2 separate regions of the Homo sapiens genome follow, and region 1 is linked to region 2. The links are contacts of gene promoters, found by promoter capture Hi-C in human tissues and cell types (Jung and others, 2019). All regions are on one chromosome and are shown on one strand. Each heading gives the region's core, a stretch centred on a gene start or on the middle of the fragment in contact. The rest is flanking DNA. Distances are from core to core; before and after follow the strand shown.

Region 1 (3,023 bases), core at 313-2,812, 1.2 Mb before region 2:
GGACAGCATCTTTTATTGGCTACTGTACTACTGGCATGATGGGCACATGGACAAGGTAGCCAAGGTGATGGACGCTGTTCATGGGCCTGACAGCAACCCATGCTCTCTACCCAGCTTTGGTTAATATCTAGCTGCCCCTGAATATCTAACCTGCCAGCAAAAGAGATCTACCCGGCTTTGGTTAATATCTAGCTGCCCCTAAATATCTAACCTGCCAGCAAAAGAGACCAGTGCTATACTCCCATTGTGGGTCACTTCATCAAGGAGCACAAACATCCAGGTTTACAGAGGTCTTTAGACATAGTCCCCATTTTATAAGGAGAGTTTACTGTATTGGAACTCTCCCATCCTGGAAGGGCTGGTGGTTCACTTTTCACAAGAATAGTCTCATATTCCAGATACGAGGCTTGTCTTTTCCTACTCACAAGTGTCAGCCAGAAAGGCTTAAGGAGTGTTTGTTTCACTGACATAAGCACACAACATTTCAAACGAGATTCACTTTATAGCCAAGGAAGTGTAGTGTCCATGGGCCCTCCTGCCTGGCAGAGCGCTGAGACAGCATGCTAAAGGCACAGCCTCCCAAAGGCATGAGCCACTGAGCCCGGCACTGAAGACTTCCTTGAAACCGTTCTTTGCAATCTTTCTGTTATTGACCAGCTGGACAGTGCGTAACTGCATGGGAATGCTTGCAGATCAGTAAATTCAGACACCTTCCTTTCCACATAAGATGGACCACCAGCTGTACCCTCCCAAGTTTTGCCAGCTGGAAATCTTCAAAAATCCAACCCTAAACTAGGTTGTAGTGTAGCAACCATCTTTTTGTTTGTTTTTTGAGACGGAGTCTCACTCGGTCTTCCAGGCTGGAGTGCAGTGGCGCGATCTCAGCTCACTGCAACCTCTGCCTCCCGGGTTCAAGCGATTCCCCTGCCTCCGCCTCCCGAGTAGCTGGGACTACAGGCACACGCCACCATGCCCGGCTAATTTTGTGTCTTTTAGTAGAGATGGGATTTCACCACGGTGGTCAGGATAGTCTCAATCTCCTGACCTCATGATCCGCCTGCCTTAGCCTCCCAAAGTGCTGGGATTTCAGGTGTGAGTCACTAGTGTAGCAACTATTTATGGTTCATGCCACCATACCGTATGGATCCGTTGGTAGAACAAACCTGTATTTTTTCGTCTTCTGTCAACTGGTCCTAGGGAGCGTCCCGTGAAACCACAGATGTAGACTGAGGGGTGTGAAGTAGAAGAGGCGGCAGCATGTGTTTGGTCACTCACTTGGGTCACATACTTATGCCTTCTGAATCTGTTCAGGCATAGTTTTGTGTATATTATTTCCAGTTTCAGTGGAATGCTGTTTATGTCCAGTTTAATGATTTGTGTATAGGCTGTCCTCCTATGGTATGCCTCATGCTTCTGTGGGCTGTATTGGGATCAGAGTCTTGGGGGTCTGCAAGCAAGGTGGTATTGTTGGGTTTTGAGAATCAGCATCTCTCTGTGAGGCACTGTATTTGTTCTCACACTGCTATAAAGAAATGCCTGAGGCCAGGTGTGGTGGCTGAGGCCTGTAATCCCAGCACTTTGGGAGGCCAAAGCCGGTGGATCACCTGAGGTCAGGAGTTCGAGACCAGCCTGACCAATATGGTGAAACTCTGTCTCTACTAAAAGTACAAAAATTAGTCGGGCCTGGTGGCGTGCACCTGTAGTCTCAGCTACTCAGGAGGCTGAGACAGGATAATTGCTTGAACCCGGGAGGCGGAGGTTGCAGTGAGCCAAGATTGTGCCATTTAAGCCTGGGTGACAGAGCAAGTCTCCATCTAAAAAAAAAAAATGCCTGAGACTGGATAATTTATAAAGAAAAGAGGTATATTTGGCTCACGGTTCTGCAGGCTGTACAGTAAGCATAGTGGCTTTTCCTTTGGGGAGGCCTCAGGAAGCTTCCAATCATGGCAGAAGACAAAGGGGGAGCAAGGCACTTCACATGGCTGTATTAGGAGGCAGAGAGAGGATGGAGGTGCCACACACTTGAACAACCAGATCTCGTGAGAACTCATTCACTGTCTGAGGACAGCACCCAGGTGTTAAACCATTCACGAGGAACTGTCCCCATGATCCAGTAACCTCCCACCAGGTCCCACCTCCAACATTAGGGATTAGAATTCAGCATGAGATTGGGCAGACACACAGATCCAAACCATATCAGGCATCCATCCCAGGTGCAGTCATTAAAAGTTTTCTATTCAGGCTTTTGAGGTGATTGTGGTGGGGCCCCTTCAAGGTGGGGGCTGGACACCAGAGGACCCAACCACATGATTGGAGGATTAGGATTTTCAGCCCCACCCTCAAACCTCTGGAGAGGGGAGGGGGTTGGAGTTTAAGTTCAATCATGTGATCAATAATCCAATCCATCATGACTATGTAATGAGGCCTTGATAAAAACTCTTAGCCAATGAGGCTTACAGAGGTTCTGGGTTGTGCTGTGTTGCGGGAAGTCAGGGACCCCAAACCGAGGGACCGGCTGGAGCCGCGGCAGAGGGACATAAATTGTGAAGATTTCATGGACGTTTATCACTTCCTAGTAATACTCTTATAATTTCTTATGCCTGTCTAATCTCAATCCTGTTATCTTCGTAAGCTGAGGATGTATGTCACCTCAGGTCCACTGTGATGATTGCATTAACTGTACAAATCGATTGTAAAACGTGCATTTGACGAGGCCAGGAGATCAAGACCATCCTGGCTAACACAGTGAAAACCCGTCTCTACTAAAAATACAAAAAATCAGCCGGGTGTGGTGGCAGGCACCTGTAGTCCCAGCTACTCGGGAGGCTGAGGAAGGAGAATGGCATGAACCTGGGAGATGGAGCTTGCAGTGAGCTGAGATGGCGCCACTGCACTCCAGCCTGGGCGACAGAGTGAGACTCCATCTCAAAAAACAAACAAACCAAAAAAAAAAAAAAACGTGTGTTTGAACAATAATGAAATCAGTGCACCTTGAAAATGAACAGAACAGCGATTTTAGGGAA
Region 2 (2,930 bases), core at 9-2,508:
AAGACATTGGTCTGTGGTTCTACTGTCTGGTGATGTCTGACTTTGCTATCAAGGCAATGCTGGCCCATACATCGAGCAGGGAAGTGCCCCTCCTCGTCCATCGTCTGAGTGGCTGGATTCCTATTATTTCTTCTCTAAGTAGGATTCACCAGCTTGGCCCTCTGGGCCTGGAATTTTCTGTGTGAGAAAATTTGATAACAAATTGATCTCAAATTTAACAGATAATAAGCATTAGTATTTTCTTTTTTGGTAACTGGCATCCTTCAAGAAATTCGTCCAATTATACCGTTTTGGGGGCTGCCTGCACTAGAGTCAGCGTGGCGTCCCCTCAGAAGGCCGGGTTTGCCAGCGCCGCGCCCCAAGCCAGGTCGGTCGGCCAGTGCTGGTGCCCTCGGGGAACAGCGGGAGCTGCCTGGAGGCTGCGGGGAGCGGCGGCGGCGGGCACGCACCTGGCTCCCGAAACCAGACCTTTAATAACGCCTCGCAGAAGGGGCGGGGTGGGAGGTTGGCAGCGCAGGGGCGGCAGCCCCGGATCCCCCCAGGTCTCCAGATCACCCCATCGAGCCCCGCGCCCTAGCAGCACAGTCCCTCCAGGGCTCCTTGGAGGGCCAGGCCTCAGCCCGGGTGCCCCCTCGCCGGGGCTCCAGGGTTGGGGGCACCCAGGAGGCCGCAGGTGTGGAGCTCGACGGCGCCCCCCGACTAGAAACCCAGGCTCTCATGCGCGGCTCCCGCCCCGACCCCAGCTCCAGAGGGGCGAGAGCACCCGGCGCCGACCCCGTCTACGGACCCCCTCCTCCGCCCCGCCCCCGCCGTCCAGCCCTCCCGCCCCTACCAGCCCCGGGCCTCCTCCCCACGGACCCGCCCCGCGCCACCAGCCGTCAGCCCTCCCGGCCCCCAGTCTCGCGTACCCTCCCCACTGGCCTGCAGGGTCCACCGACTTCCCGACCCCGGGACCTCCCGACCCCCGGACCTCCCGGCCTCGCGGACCCTCAGGAGCCCCTGCGTGGGCTGCGCCAGGGCGCCCGCGACAGCACCGCCGCGAACCACAGCCACGGCCTCCGGGTCTGCAATGGAACCTCTAGCCGCTGCGGTCAGGAGGGCGGAGACTCTGCGCACGCGCAGTTCCCCCTCCCGCCCCTGCTTGCCGGTGATGGCGCATAACGCATGCGCGGGGAGGGCGGAGCTGGGCGTTGCCGTGGCTACTGGGAACGCATTTCACGGGGGCGGGGCGTGGTTCCGGGGCGGGGCGCGGCCGCCGGAAGTGCGTGGCCGCCCGGGGCCATGGCGACACTCAGCTTCGTCTTCCTGCTGCTGGGGGCAGTGTCCTGGCCTCCGGCTTCTGCCTCCGGCCAGGAGTTCTGGCCCGGACAATCGGCGGCCGATATTCTGTCGGGGGCGGCTTCCCGCAGACGGTAAACGCGCGTCCACGGTGCCAACGCTGGGGTTCCAGGACCGGGCAGGGTCAGAGGATGGGATGGGGGCGGGGCGGGGTCAGGGGCCAGGGAGATGGGATGGGGTCAGGGGCAGGCCCACGGGATGGAGGGTGGTCCGGGGCCAGGGAGATGGAATGGAGCGGAGTTATGGGGCAGGGGCCAGGGGGATGGGATGGAGCGGGGTCAGGGGGCAGGGGTCAGGGGAATGGGATGGGGTCAGGGTTCTGGGGCAAGGAATGTGGCGGAGTAAGGGGCCAGGGTGATGGTATAGGGGCAGGGGGCAGGGGCCAGGAGGGATGGGATGGGGGCGGGGCAGGGATCAGGGCGATGGGATGGGATGGGGGCGGGGCAGGGGCCAGGGTGATGGGATGGGATGGGGGCGGGGCAGGGGCTAGGGCCAGGAGGGGTGGGATGGGATGGGGGCAGGAACGGGGGCCCGAGGGATGGGATGGGGGCGGGGCGGGAGCCGGGGCCAAGAAGGATGGGACGGGGACGGGACAGGGGCAGGGGCAGGGGCAGGGGCCGGGGCCGGGCTGGAGTCTGGGGGATGGGATGGGGCGGGGGCTGGGGGCAGGGTCGGGCCAGCGGGTTGGCTGTAGTCGAGGCTGCGTCACTGCGGCCCGGGTCTGCAGGCGGGGTCGTCTGCGAGGCCCGGGGCGCAGCCTCGGGAGCCCAGGAAGGGGGCCGGGTTGCTCAGGCTGAGCGTGGGCTGGCTCCGGAGGCCCCTGCAAGTGACACGGGTCCAGGCCTGGGTGTGCGGAGCCGGGAGTCAGTGCCGGGCGGGCGCTCCGCAGTGAATTCTCAGGGCCAAGACGAGCTTCGCGGCCGCCCTGTGGCTGTGGGATCTCCAAGCGGACCCCGGGAGGGGCCTGGACGCAGAGGTGTGCACGGCCCCTCGTGGCGTTCGCAGGCCTGGGCGCTGCACGCAGCTTCACTCGCGACGATGGGAGTATGGAAAACCAGCGCAGAGCAGGGAAAGGAGAGCGCCAGGGACAGGGTTTCTGTAGCCCTTGGGGACTTGTCTGTGCCTTGGGGACTTGTCTGTGCCTTGGGGCGCTTTGTGTCCTTCCTCTAGGGCAGTGATCTTAAAGTGTGTCCTGGATCTCTGAGCTTTTGTAGCCGTTTTAATAGTAGTACCAGAGTATTATACGCCTTTTTCACTTCTCATGAATGCACTGTGGAGTTTTCCTAGAAACCACTTGATCTGTGATGTCACAACAGATTGAATGCAGAAACGGGTATGGGAATCCAGCTGTCACCAAACCCAAAAGAGATTTGCAAAAATTAAGAACATCATCACAGTTCTTCTAATTCATTTTTTAAAATACACTTATTTTTTATTTAAATATGTGGTTTTTGTTAACATGTAATGGCTTCTTATTTTTAGCTGAATTAAATACTTGTAGCTTTAACGTCTAACATAGGACGTATCAATAGACATAGTGCACATAACCAGCCGTCAGTCATTGTTTCCAGTGTAAAGGGGTCTTTAAACCA

Evidence for each region. Contacts are between HindIII fragments. The study calls those that stand out against the background at their distance.
Region 1: a fragment that was not itself captured here is called in contact with the fragment with the promoter of POFUT2 in region 2 in 1 of the 25 tissues and cell types used here (dorsolateral prefrontal cortex).

Annotation. Positions count from the first base shown.
Region 1 is chr21:46,449,252-46,452,274 of GRCh38, reverse strand. LOC124905046 (a long non-coding RNA gene) reads left to right here. Exons shown (of 2, transcript XR_007067915.1): 2 at 1-3,023. Among named protein-coding and RNA genes, the nearest start is that of DIP2A, 8.1 kb to the left of the region's middle. The HindIII fragment of the contact is 6,584 bases long and covers 1-3,023 here.
Region 2 is chr21:45,286,223-45,289,152 of GRCh38, reverse strand. It overlaps POFUT2 (protein O-fucosyltransferase 2), which reads left to right and starts at 1,258. Exons shown (of 9, transcript NM_133635.6): 1 at 1,258-1,412. The coding sequence starts at 1,282. LINC00205 (long intergenic non-protein coding RNA 205) reads right to left here and starts at 1,101. Exons shown (of 3, transcript NR_026943.1): 1 at 909-1,101. RefSeq lists an enhancer at 1-647 and a silencer at 802-1,331. The HindIII fragment of the contact is 23,447 bases long and covers 1-2,930 here.